3 separate regions of the Homo sapiens genome follow, and all the other regions are linked to region 3. Evidence: promoter capture Hi-C in 16 types of primary human blood cells and fetal thymus (Javierre and others, 2016). All regions are on one chromosome and are shown on one strand. Each heading gives the region's core, a stretch centred on a gene start or on the middle of the fragment in contact. The rest is flanking DNA. Distances are from core to core; before and after follow the strand shown.

Region 1 (4,160 bases), core at 945-3,444, 1.1 Mb before region 3:
GAGTGAGGGTAGGGAGCATAAATACATCCTTCTTTTGAGTCTCCACAGCACCTAGCAACCTGCTTTACACATTCAAAATATGTCTTATATATTTGAAATATGGGCTATTTATTGATTGGCTGAAGGAAAAGATCCTTGAATTCCATAAATTATGATTCTCTAATTTATCTTTTATCATTTCTTCTTTTCCTCATTCCATTGCTTCTTTCTCAACTGGAGGTAAATTTGTCCCAGGATGAAGTCTATGAATGGAATGGATGAAGTGTCATGGAAACAGAATGGAGCAAATCCAAGTGTGGGTTTTTTTTTTATAACTATTGATTTCTTGACTCTGCTTTCAGTTTCCATTGATTTGTTGGTGTTAACTGGATTTATGACTACTATGCTTTGTTTCTGTGAGTCAGTATTCTATTTTCCCTGAAGCAACATGTCTGTTGTACACAGGCCATCTCCCTGAGACCTCAACGCATCCAGAAAACAGCCAAGAGCTGAGAAGTAAGCAAAATATCTCTGAACAACCAAAACAGGTATCACCATGTCTCCACTGTCCAAACACTTACATAAGATGGAACACCTTTTGGAGCTCTCTGCACATAATTCTAGTCAATTCGTTTGTGTGATTTTCCTAACAAGGCATGTTAGAAGCAGCAAATTTGTTGGCAGGTTAGGAAGGATAGGTTGCCAAAGGCTGGAACACTGACAATCATTAAAATGACACCTGATAGACTAAAAGTGAGAAAAAGAACAAACAACAAAAAAAGAAAACATGTAAAAATAAGAACCAAGGAATCAAAACTCAAAAGAGATTTGATCATGCCATGTAGAGGCAAATAACCCTATATTTGTATTGCTCATTGCATTCTAGTGTGGGAGAGAAATTGACATTCATCATGGTAAGCCTGAGATATAAAGACAAGAATAAAATGTGCTCAGGAAACTGTTGGAGAAGACAGGAAAGTACACAATAGATTTTAGAAAGATTTCTAGTCAAAATGGTTTTGTTGTTGTTGTTTTTGTGTTTAGAGGAGTAAACATCAGTTAATGGGGAAAAGAAGATTCATAAGTCATTTAAATAGGCCACTTCTTTCCTAACAGACTGGACAAATTGGGCATTACTGTATTTCAAACAAAGCACGAAAAATCTCTTTAGAAGTGTCTCATTCTACAAATATACTATAACCGCAATAATGTGATTTAGGAGGGAAAGAGAGAGACACACACACAAAGACTGCTACTAACTCCTGGACAGGTTAGAAGTTATTACCATTCCATCTTTCTTGCCATTGTTCCCCAACCACATATATTCTCAACTTTTACATAGCTATTAGCATAATATATGATTTATTTTGCTTTGACTTGACTTATCATTCATCACATACTTTCCATGTGCCTATATAATATTCATAATTTTCATTTTGATGGCTGCCTAATAGTCCATGTTCCTAAATTGCTTTCAATTTTACCAATTATCAATAAACAATACTGCAATAAACACCTTCACATATACAGCTATTCTGTCCTTGTGTAGTTTTGGATTACTATCAAACAATAAATTCACCAAAGTGAAATTAGAAATATATCTAAATTAAGAAATGTATTTGAACAGTGACTTGCTTTACGAGGTTGTGGTGAAAATGAGGTTGTAATACCAGTCAAAGCCCTCCTCCCCAGATTAGCAGAAATTTAACTCCTCACTTGACTCTCCCCCACTTCCCTGAATTGCCCAAGAACCCAGAGATTCATTCAGTCAAACTCTTAGCAGAGGGAAAACTAGAGAATCTGACCACCGTCCAGTGGACACTTCTTGACGCCTGCTGTTGCTTCAGTTACTCAGTTACTCCTGTCCTATGGCACATGCATCTAATGAGTGGATATCATGGCTCTTAAACCATGAACTCACAACACCCATGTGTGAAGAGGGCCCCGTGGGCATCATTGTTCCTCTACTAACAGATGAAGATAGGCAGGCTCTGAGAAGTAGTGACACAACCAGGAAGGGACAAAGACAGACCTTCCATCCCTCGGACAGGGATTCATCCATTTCACCGTGCAAGCTCATCATGTACAAGATCCATGCCAAGAAAAATCTGACAGTATACAGGGACAGGACCTGATTTTTTTTCTTAATGTAGAAGGGTGATTCTGCACAGTATATGTAGTTGTGCTTCTATGTCAATGACCCATAAAATATCTTGTGAGGACAGAAAACATAACATACGTAAAATTATGCTCTAAAAAAGCCTTACACATTGTTGGCCTCAAATTATTTTAGCCAGTTGAAATGAAAATTATTTAGAGATTAATTTTAACCTAATTCGGATTTTGTTGAAGATGTAGTAACTTTAAAAACAATGTGAAAGAATAGAGCTGGAAACGCAGTAGTGAAATATCATCTAAAAACAATACACTATTGAATTTTAGATGTATAGAGTCATTTACATGTGACTGACATGTGTCACTACAGCCTATGACTGAGAGATTAATGCACTTCCTTTTAAAAGCATTTCTCCAATACTTTGTACAATTGTGCCCTCTGCCGGATGCACATGGGTATTATTTTACAGGGCTATACATAGGAAACAATGCTTTATAATCACATCTTTTTAAAGTAAAACTTTTCAATACTTGAATTCTGTGTATATTTCAGCAATTAGTTGGTTCTATCCCACACAAACTTCCTAATCCTCTTTTTAAATTACTGATAATCTCATTTACAGAAATCAAAACATTGTTAAAGATTAGCTCAGTACTGTTTAGTGCTGTCAGCTGAGTAAATTGTTACTTCTCAAAAAAGAACTCATAACTAAATATAAATATGGATAAATCTCTTGAAAGTTTCTCATATCTCAATAAAATGCATAATGAAACCATTTATTATCATATTTAAGTTTACAAATATCCACCCAATTATTGTCTCATTTCGTTTCATTATTTAAAAATATTTATTCCCATGTAGCATACTGGATTTCAATGATACACAACAAAATAATATGTGGTCTCAATTCTCAAGAATTTTATTATTAAATGGAAAATGGTGAGAAGTAAATGAACAACTGCAGAGTAGCACATGCCATGAACACTGGGATGTTCCAGATTCCCCTTCAATGAGGAACTTGCGGCTCCAGTCACAGAGAGCCTCCTTACGCAATGTCACACCCCTTTTCAGGAGCCCACATCCAATGACTGATCCATGCTGGAGAAAAAAGTGCCCACCATATCAGCCCAACTTTCTACAACTCAGAAGGGCCATTCTGGCTCCCTAAATCCCCTGGGGTTTACCACAGTTGTTAGGCACACATTCAAGCTCAGCCCTTCTCTCTACCCCAGTGGTTTTCAACTGAGGGCAATTTGCTATCCCCTCCTTCCCCACCACCAGCATATTTTGCAATGTCTGAAAACACTTTTGGTCATCACAACTGAAGGGGAGGGAGGTGTGTATGTGTGCTACTGGCATCTAGTGGGTAGAGCCCAGGGATACTGCTATGCATCCCATAGTGCACAGGACAGCCCCACAACAAAGTGTTACACCTAGTCTGAAATGTCTCTATGCCACAGTTGAAAAACCCTGTTCTATCCAATCTCGTGCTTTCCTTTCCCTTTCATAGGTGTTGGTCTGAGGTCATTCTTTTTTTTGGGGGGGGGTGTTTTGGTTTTGTTTTTCAACTTTTGTTTTAGATTTGGGGGTACACACGCAGGTTTGTTACAAATGTGTATTGCATGATGCTGAGGTTTGCAGTACAATTGAAACCATCACCCAGGAAGTGAGCATAGTACCTAACAGGTAGTATTTCAATCCTTTCTTCCCTCCATGTCTCCCTCCTCTTGTATTCCCTGGTGTCTATTGTTCCCATCTTTATGTCCATGTGTGTCCAATGTTTAGCTCTCACTTATAAGTGAGAACATGTGATATTTGGTTTTCCATTCCTGCATTAGTTCACTTAGGATAATCACCTCCATCTGCATCCATGTTTCTGCAAAGGACATAATTTCATTATTTGTTATGGCTGTGTAGTATTCCATGGCGCATATGTACCACATTTTCTTTATCCAATCCACCATTGATGGGCACTTGGGCTAATTCCATTTCTTTGCTATTGTGAATAGCACTGCAATGAACATACAGGTGCATGTGTCTTTTTGGTAGAATTTCTTTTCCTTTG
Region 2 (4,076 bases), core at 199-2,698, 1.1 Mb before region 3:
ATGGCAGCGGTAAAGGTAAGATTTTTATTTTTTTATTTTTTTTTTGAGCTCGTAAGTAAAAAAGGTAAACTTTAGTCTTTTTTTTTATACTTTAAGTTTTAGGGTACATGCGCACAACGGGCAGGTTAGTTACATATGTATACATGTGCCATGTTGGTGTGCTGCACCCATTAACTCGTCATTTAACATTAGGTATATCTCCTAATGCTATCCCTCCCCCCTCCCCCCACCCCACAACAGTCCCTGGTGTGTGATGTTCCCCTTCCTGTGTCCATGTGTTCTCATTGTTCAATTCCCACCTGTGAGTGAGAACATGCGGAGTTTGGTTTTTTGTCCTTGCGATAGTTTGCTGGTAAATTTTAGTCTTTAAAGTTTGGTATTCTCATTGCACGATGGAGAAGACCTAAGAAATACAAAAGTAAAAGCACTATTGGGTGCATTCCTAGACATCTCTTACCCCAGGCATTTAGGGGTGGCTCAGGCCAGCAAGTTAGTTTAGGGGGCAGAAAGGGAAAAACTAAAGTCTGTCATGCTTGTCAGTCTAGTGTGGTTCTTAGCAGGCCGTTGCTCAGTTGGCAGTAGTCATTTAATTACAGTGGGTAGAGAGGGCTAAGGTGATAAACATCCAGTCTTCTCTCTCCCTGCGTCTCATCTAGAAACGATCACTAGCCTTCATCCCCACATTATAATGCTCCATAGCTTTAATTGGCTGGCTTGTGCATACCTTATGTACATGGACTTAGCAAGTGTGCATACACTTGGTGTCCACTGTGGGCCTGGACCTATCTCACACAATATTTTGGGCCCAGTAGCCTCCTCATGTAGGTAGGTATTTAGCAAATACTAAGTAAATACCTGTTGGGTAGCAGATTAAACATTTGAAGATTTCTCTTGAGGATAATAAACACTTTGGTGTCCACCCTCCACCTCCTTTCATTTTGTAGGCATCAACATCGAAAGCTACCAGGCCTTGGTATTCTCATCCGGTATATGCAAGATACTGGCAACATTATCATCAAGCAATGGCTTGGATGCAAAGCCATCACAATGCCTACAGGAAGGCCGTGGAATCCTGTTTCAATCTTCCATGGTACTTACCTTCTGCGCTTCTTCCCCAAAGCTCTTACGATAATGAGGCTGCGTATCCTCAGTCCTTCTATGACCATCATGTGGCCTGGCAGGACTACCCCTGCAGTTCTTCACATTTCAGAAGATCTGGGCAGCATCCACGTTACAGCAGTAGGATCCAGGCATCCACAAAAGAAGACCAAGCTTTGTCCAAAGAGGAAGAGATGGAGACTGAGTCAGATGCAGAGGTAGAATGTGACCTGAGCAATATGGAAATCACTGAAGAGCTCCGCCAGTACTTTGCAGAGACCGAGAGGCATAGAGAAGAACGACGTAAGTTCAGGCCTCTGTCTCTTCATGCTTCCTTTCCTTGCCCTGCCTTTTACATTTTTTTTCTCTAATATATAAAGTAATTTTATAATTCTTCATTGGCTAGGGTAATATTCCAAATCCAGTCCTAAGCCTGGAAAAGCTATGGGGATGCTGTACCTTGCTTATGTTAGTTTCTGGAGTTGTTTTAGTATAAGACATTTTTTTGTTCCAGAACAAAGCTTATCCTAATAGTAGTTCTACTATTTATTAACCATTAGACACTCTACCAAATGGAGTGTGTATGCATGCATGCTTGTGTGTGTGCGTGCTCTGATCTACACAGCAGTCCCTCAGAGTATTAAACTCATTTTATATATGAGGAAAGTGAACCTTAAAAAGGTTAATTGACTTGTTCCGTGGTACACAACTAGTAATTTGCTGTTAGGATCCAAACCAAATCTGCCTACCTCTACTTCCTGTACTGCTTTCTGTATACTAGGACTTGTCCCTGAGACTGCTAGGTTCCTAAAATACTTTTGCCATTCCTCTGGGACACATCTTGGAGATGTCCTTGGTGCTAGAGGTCCCAAATCTTAAATAGCATGAACCTAAACAGAGTAACGAAATGCCTGGCACTTACAACTTTCCTGTTGGTTCTGCATTGAGGCCCTGTCCATGGGGTCAGAGAATTATGATAAAGGTCTTATATCTTCAGTCAAAAACAGGAATTTTCTTTTTAAATTTCTTACCACCTTACTAGAAAGAACTAGAACAGCTTTTGTGCTCTCCTATTAAAATTCACCAGACCATTTCTAAGTACCTCTAACTGAGATACAAATGCTTCTTTCCCTATTATAACCAGTATTCATTCTCAATTTTGTTTTAAGTGAGGCCTAATTGTATGACATTTTACCTACAATTTTCCAATGACACAGAAGCGTAGAAACCTGGGAATGGGAGTTTCATTCCTGTCTGTCATTGTCAGCATTTTCCTAATGATGAATTAGCTTTTATTGATCCCCACTGGATGCCAAGAACTGAGCACTGGGCTTTGTATAAAATATTATATCCTTTAGTATCTTCGTCCGTGATTCTTCACTAAACTACTTGTTCAGATTTTTTTGACTTCCTTTCTTTTGTTTAAACTGTGTACTTCTTTAAGCATATTAGAAAGTATATCCAGCCAGGTGTGGTGGCTCACACCTGTAGTCCCAGCAACTCGGGAGGATGGCTTGAGCCCAGGAGTTTGAGGCTGCAGTGAGCCACGATCACACCACTGTACTCCAGCCTGGGTGACAGAGCGAGACCCTGGCTCAAAAAAAAAAAAAAAAAGAAAAGAAAAGAAAGAAAAGAAAAAGAAAAGAAAGAAAGAAGTATATCCAAACAAATACTTTTAAGACAGTACTTTCTATTACACACAGAATACTTTTGCTTGATCTCCAGAAATAAATTTTACCCTTTTTAAAAATATAGATACGAAACAACCATTAGTCTAATATATACAACAAATGAGAAGCATTGGAGCATGTCCATGTTTGGGTTGGAATGCTGTTTGTTACAGCTTTTGACAGAGAAAATGGGATGGAGATCGAGTTTATTACTCTTGTCCTTACCAGAAAGTAGAATAACATGTTTTGCCCACTAGAGGTTGATACTTTTATGATGGAAATTGTAATTATGGATGGAAGCAAATCCCAGTCATCTCAAAGGTGACTTTGAATTATCTGCTGGTTTAAAATAAACTTGAGTTAGTCAATAAAAAGTGGATATGAATAAAATAAAGATAAAACAATGAAATGTGTCCTTGCACCAAAGAAAAAATGTGAACGGTTCAGTTACAGATATTGTTAACAACCATCCCTATTCCTCCCTCTTGCCATTGTTAGGTAGAACTCTAGGTAGGTAAACAAAATCATGAAAATTACCTGCTAAGTCATACTTGCCACTTAATATTATTTTGAGTGAATAAATGAAGTCTTTCAGTGTGAATTAGAAGCCTTAAATCAGAGGTTGGCAAATCTTACCCATAGAGTGCTACACTTGCAGTGATTCTGTGGGACATTTTACAGAATGAGCTAGGCCTTGTGTGCATTATAAACTTGATAAGCTTCATCTCTGTGTTTCATATTATTTCCAAATCTGTCTAGTTACTTTACGGCTCCAAATTGCACTTTCATCATCTGGGTTGAATTGTATCTCCCCAAGAAAGATACAGTGGAATCCTAACCCCCAGTTCCTCAGAATGTGACCTTATTTAAAGACAGGGTCTTTCCAGAGGTAATTGAGGTTAAGTGAGGTCATTACAGGGATCCTAATCCTATGTGACTCAGGTCCTTATAAAAAGGGCAAAATCCGGACACAGAGACAGACACACATGCAGTGAAAACACCATGTGAAGATTGACATTATGTCGCCACAATCCAAGGAACATCCAGAAGGTGGGAGAGGCCTGGAACAGATCCTTCCCTAGCACCTTTAGAGGGTTTATGGCCCTGCCAACACCTCGATTGCAGACTTCTGACCTCCAGAGCCATGAGACAATACATTTCTGTTGTTTTAAACCACCCAGTATATGGTACTTTGTTATGGCAGCCCTAGGAAAGGAGTACAATCACCCTGGGAGAATTTTCTTTGTCCCCAAATGCAATCTGTGACTGGGACATAAAGTAAACCCACAGTTCTTGTCATCTGTCTGA
Region 3 (4,007 bases), core at 126-2,625:
GAATTGGATAATTTCAACTGCAATCCCATATGTGTCATTGGCCCAGTTGACCGAATTCCATATGGGCCACCTACAGTCATTTTGTAAAGCATTGTAAAATTTTAGTGCAGAATTAATTTACCTTCAAGATCCATAATGAACATTAGGTGGGTATAAAAATTAACTTCAGGCCGGGCGCGGTGGCTCATGCCTGTAATCCCAGCACTTTGGGAGGCTGAGACAGGCGGATCACCTGAGGTCAGGAGTTCGAGACCAGCCTGGCCAACATGGAGAAACCCCGTCTCTACTAAAAATACAAAAATTAGCCAGGCGTGGTGGCACACACCTGTAGTCCCAGCTACTTGGGAGGTTGAGGCAGGAGAATCGCTTGAACCCGGGAGGCGGAGGTTGCAGTGAGCTGAGATCACGCCACTGCACTCCAACCTGGGTGGCAGACCCATTAACTTCAAAAGACTTAAGTGTACTTTAAATTGTTGTCAAAATTAACTCCAAGGACTTTGGGGAAAAATATATAGTACATTTTGGATGAGACTCTCTTGAAATCAGACTTTTCAATTGCTCTTAAACCTCATTGAATTTTCTAGAAAATGTATCATTTAAAAAGAAGTGTAAAGTTCATTTTTAGTCTGACAGTTCTTGACAATAACAAAAACGGACCACCTGCTATGTCTTGACAGTGTAAAATAATAATTACAGAAATTGTAGCATGTTATTAGGTTGGTGGAAAAGTAATCACAGTTTTTTGTACCAACCTAATTATTTAAAACTCTGACCAAGAAAAGTAGCAATTAATGTCGAACTTTAAGCCTCCAACAGTAGGTTAAGCTCAGGCTTCACTAGGATCTAGCAATTGACCTATGTATGTGAAGGAAGAGAGTTTGTCCTTTTCTACAGAAATAGCAAAGGAAGAATATTTCCCTCACCTTCTCTTCCAACCCTGTTGTTCTGGAAGAGGATATTGTCTCTGGTAGGGCCAGTAAGTAATATTTCCAGTTCAATTTCTAACTTGAAATTTTCTTATTTTCCTGTCCAAATTAGTAAGATCATCACTGCATTTGATTTTCAAAATTTACTCTCTAATTCCTTTATACTAACGTGTGCACAAATTAAAGATCATAGCAAGCCGCTTTACCTGCATTTACAGTTGTTTCGATCTTTAATTTTTATCCTTATTTGCCCATTTATTACTTTCTAGGCTCACACCATTTGCCACCAACCCAGATTTCTGGGTCAGAAACCCCATATTCTGTTGGAAAGCTTTGCTAAAGAAATAGAAGTGGCTTACCATGTTTCTGTTGTTCTAATTTTTCATTCCGTAACTTGCAGCAGCGCAGAATGGTACCCTCTATGCAGGAGGTGGCCGAGAAGAGAAACTGGCTAACTTCCTGAAATGGCTCTATTTACCATCAGCAGAACGTAGCGTGTGTTTTACAGAAGTTTACATGAAAAGAAGGGAACTTGTGATTTCTTAGCTGTTGCCAAATCATTAATTGACTGTGCTTTAAAACTTTGAAACTGAAGTTATGGGAAAAAGTCATTTATGAAATGATTTAAATACAACCCAAATCAGACACACACGACGTATTTTTGTTAGTTTTTGTGTATTTGTGTGTACAGGGGAGAAAAAGGGAACATTATTCCATTCACTAAGAAAACTTCAGTGTATTCTTTTTTAAAAAAGTTACCATAAATTTGTACTGAACTTCGGATTTCTCAAACTCGTCTTCCTTGTGTAATTCACAGATGTAGGCGAATAACATGAACATTGCTTCATCTTTGTTCCACAAGTTTCTGAGACAGCACCGGTAGGTATGGGTCTCCCTCCCACTGGGCTGTGGCCGCAAAGCGAGCATCTTTCTCCTGGGCGCCCCATGCCTCCTCCAGCACCTGGCATGTAGTATAAGCTCAATGAGTGTTCATTGTATGAACGAGTGAGTCAATGGCTGAGCATTCGTGAGGCTGGAAAATTTAATCTTCCCGATTTAGTCTGATAAATGGATTCCATTTTATGCTCGGAGAGCAAGGGCCTCAAAAGGTGTAACCAAGAGCAGAGGTCAGCAAACTGCAGCCTTTGAACGAAATCCGGCCCAGAAGTGAAAACATTTTTAGATGAACATTGGCAATGGATTTGCTGATACAGAACACTAACTTTAAATTCCAACCAAGCAGAATGTTAGCACCTCCAAAAATGATTCCATTCTTCTCATTATTAAACCTATACTACAAAAAAACTGCCTTCGATTATTATTATTACATTTTGAGTTTCATCAATTACATAATTGTGGAAATTTTTATTTTACTATATAAGTAGCTACATAATATGCCAAATTTGCTTCTTGGCCTGTAAAACCTAAGATATTTGCCATCTGGCCCTTTACAGAAAAAGTTTGCTGACCCCTGGCCACAAGAATAAAGTTTAGAACGGGATGTGATATGTTTCATCTTGCCTTACACCCCAGGAGTGGGAGAAAACCAAATTGGCAGCAGGGTGGGCAGAGATGACATCCATATATAAATGGACTGTGGAACACCTTGTTATGAAGGAAGGCCTGTCAGCAGTCAAAGAATGGCTTGGGTGGGTATACCTAGATGGACCTCTAAAGATCACACCCTAAGGGAATTCAAGACCTGGTGCATGGTTTGAGAGGTGATTCCTGTGACATCAGAGAGTGCAGCCTGGGCCTTCATGGGCAAACCAAAAACATTTGTGATTGTAAACCCAAAGGCCTCGGCTGGCCGCATCCAAGTCTCTTGGTTTCCCTCCAAACATTTGCTTGGAAATAAAGTAAAGAAAGTAAGTAAGAATGGATCGAGTGCAGTGGCTCACACCTGTAATTCCAGCACTTTGTAGAGGCCGAGGCAGGAGGATCACTTGTGCTCAGGGGTTTGAGACCAACCCGGGCAACATGGCAAAACCTTGTCTCTAAAAAAATACAAAAATTAGCCAGGCATGGTGGTGTGCACCTGTAGTCCCAGTTACTCGGGTGGCTGAGGTGGGAGGATCGCTTGAGCCCAGGAGGTGGAGATTGCAGTGAGCCATGATAGTGCCACTGCACTCTAGCCTGGGTGACAGAATGAGACTTTGTCTAAAAAAACAAACAAACAAACAAACAAAAAACAGCGAAGTAAAAATGACTTCCAGCCGTTGACTGAGCAAGGATCCTTGGAACTGGAGAGTTTGTCAGCTTTCTAGAAAAGCGAGACTCACATACCCTGGCTTCTAGGCCACCAAGTGTCAGCCAATTGTAGACCAGTCAATTGGCCTTGTAAAGCATGCTTGTATACGTATATATATATATGTGTGTGTGTGTGTGTGTGTGTGTGTGTGTGTATCATCATGTATATATGATATATATATATTTTTTATGTACATATGCATGTTTATATGTATATATACACACATACAGTCTAGTATCTATGTCAAGCAAACTCATAAAAATGAGTTACTTACTTATACCAAATGAGCCTTCAGTTTTCTCCACACAACCAGTACCATAAAAGATGAAAATGAAAATGGAATTGACACCAGGGCAGGAAGGTTACTGAGAGGAAGAAGCTCCATCTGCTTGTAAAGTAGCCAGATGATTGGCTTCTGCCCAAGCCCAGAAACTGGTCCTTGGTGGCCAGGTCTGCTCTCCCCACCCTGCACTGTGAGGCCAAAAGCTCCTGGGCATCTCCTAGACCAATCTTTCCTTACTCTTCCCCTTGCCATCCATGCTGACACAGATCTTGATTCCAAAATGGAGAAGACCTGTCATGAACCGCTTCTGCCAGGCAAGCCTGCCAGACAACGTGCACTTCCCAGACACACAAATCACCAGCAGACAAGCCTCTCTGAGCCTTAGTTTTCTCATCTGTCAAATTGGGATAAGAATAGTAGTATCTTTCTCAGATGTTGGCTTTGAGGATTAAATTGTTCATATCGTGGAACTCTTAGAAAAGTAGCTGGCACAAAGTGAGCGTTCAACTAGCAGAGCTGGAATTATTATTACTACGCTTGTTGTTAC

Evidence for each region. The method cuts DNA at HindIII sites, captures the fragments that hold promoters and counts their contacts. A CHiCAGO score of 5 or more calls a contact.
Region 1: a fragment that was not itself captured here is called in contact with the fragment with the promoter of TLR8 in region 3 in 1 of 17 cell types (neutrophils); the score reaches 6.6 in neutrophils.
Region 2: a fragment that was not itself captured here is called in contact with the fragment with the promoter of TLR8 in region 3 in 2 of 17 cell types (naive CD4 T cells and total CD4 T cells); the score reaches 5.5 in naive CD4 T cells.

What each region holds. Positions count from the first base shown.
Region 1 is chrX:14,037,890-14,042,049 of GRCh38, reverse strand. No RefSeq gene overlaps it. Among named protein-coding and RNA genes, the nearest start is that of GEMIN8, 10 kb to the right of the region's middle. The HindIII fragment of the contact is 7,534 bases long and covers 1-4,160 here.
Region 2 is chrX:14,017,403-14,021,478 of GRCh38, reverse strand. GEMIN8 (gem nuclear organelle associated protein 8) reads left to right here. Exons shown (of 5, transcript NM_001042479.2): 3 at 1-15; 4 at 945-1,401. The coding sequence starts at 1. Among named protein-coding and RNA genes, the nearest start is that of GEMIN8, 10 kb to the left of the region's middle. The HindIII fragment of the contact is 347 bases long and covers 1,275-1,621 here.
Region 3 is chrX:12,903,988-12,907,994 of GRCh38, reverse strand. TLR8 (toll like receptor 8) reads right to left here and starts at 1,375. Exons shown (of 2, transcript NM_138636.5): 1 at 1,286-1,375. The coding sequence starts at 1,288. It overlaps TLR8-AS1 (TLR8 antisense RNA 1), which reads left to right. Exons shown (of 5, transcript NR_030727.1): 4 at 1,744-1,805. The HindIII fragment of the contact is 3,594 bases long and covers 1,260-4,007 here.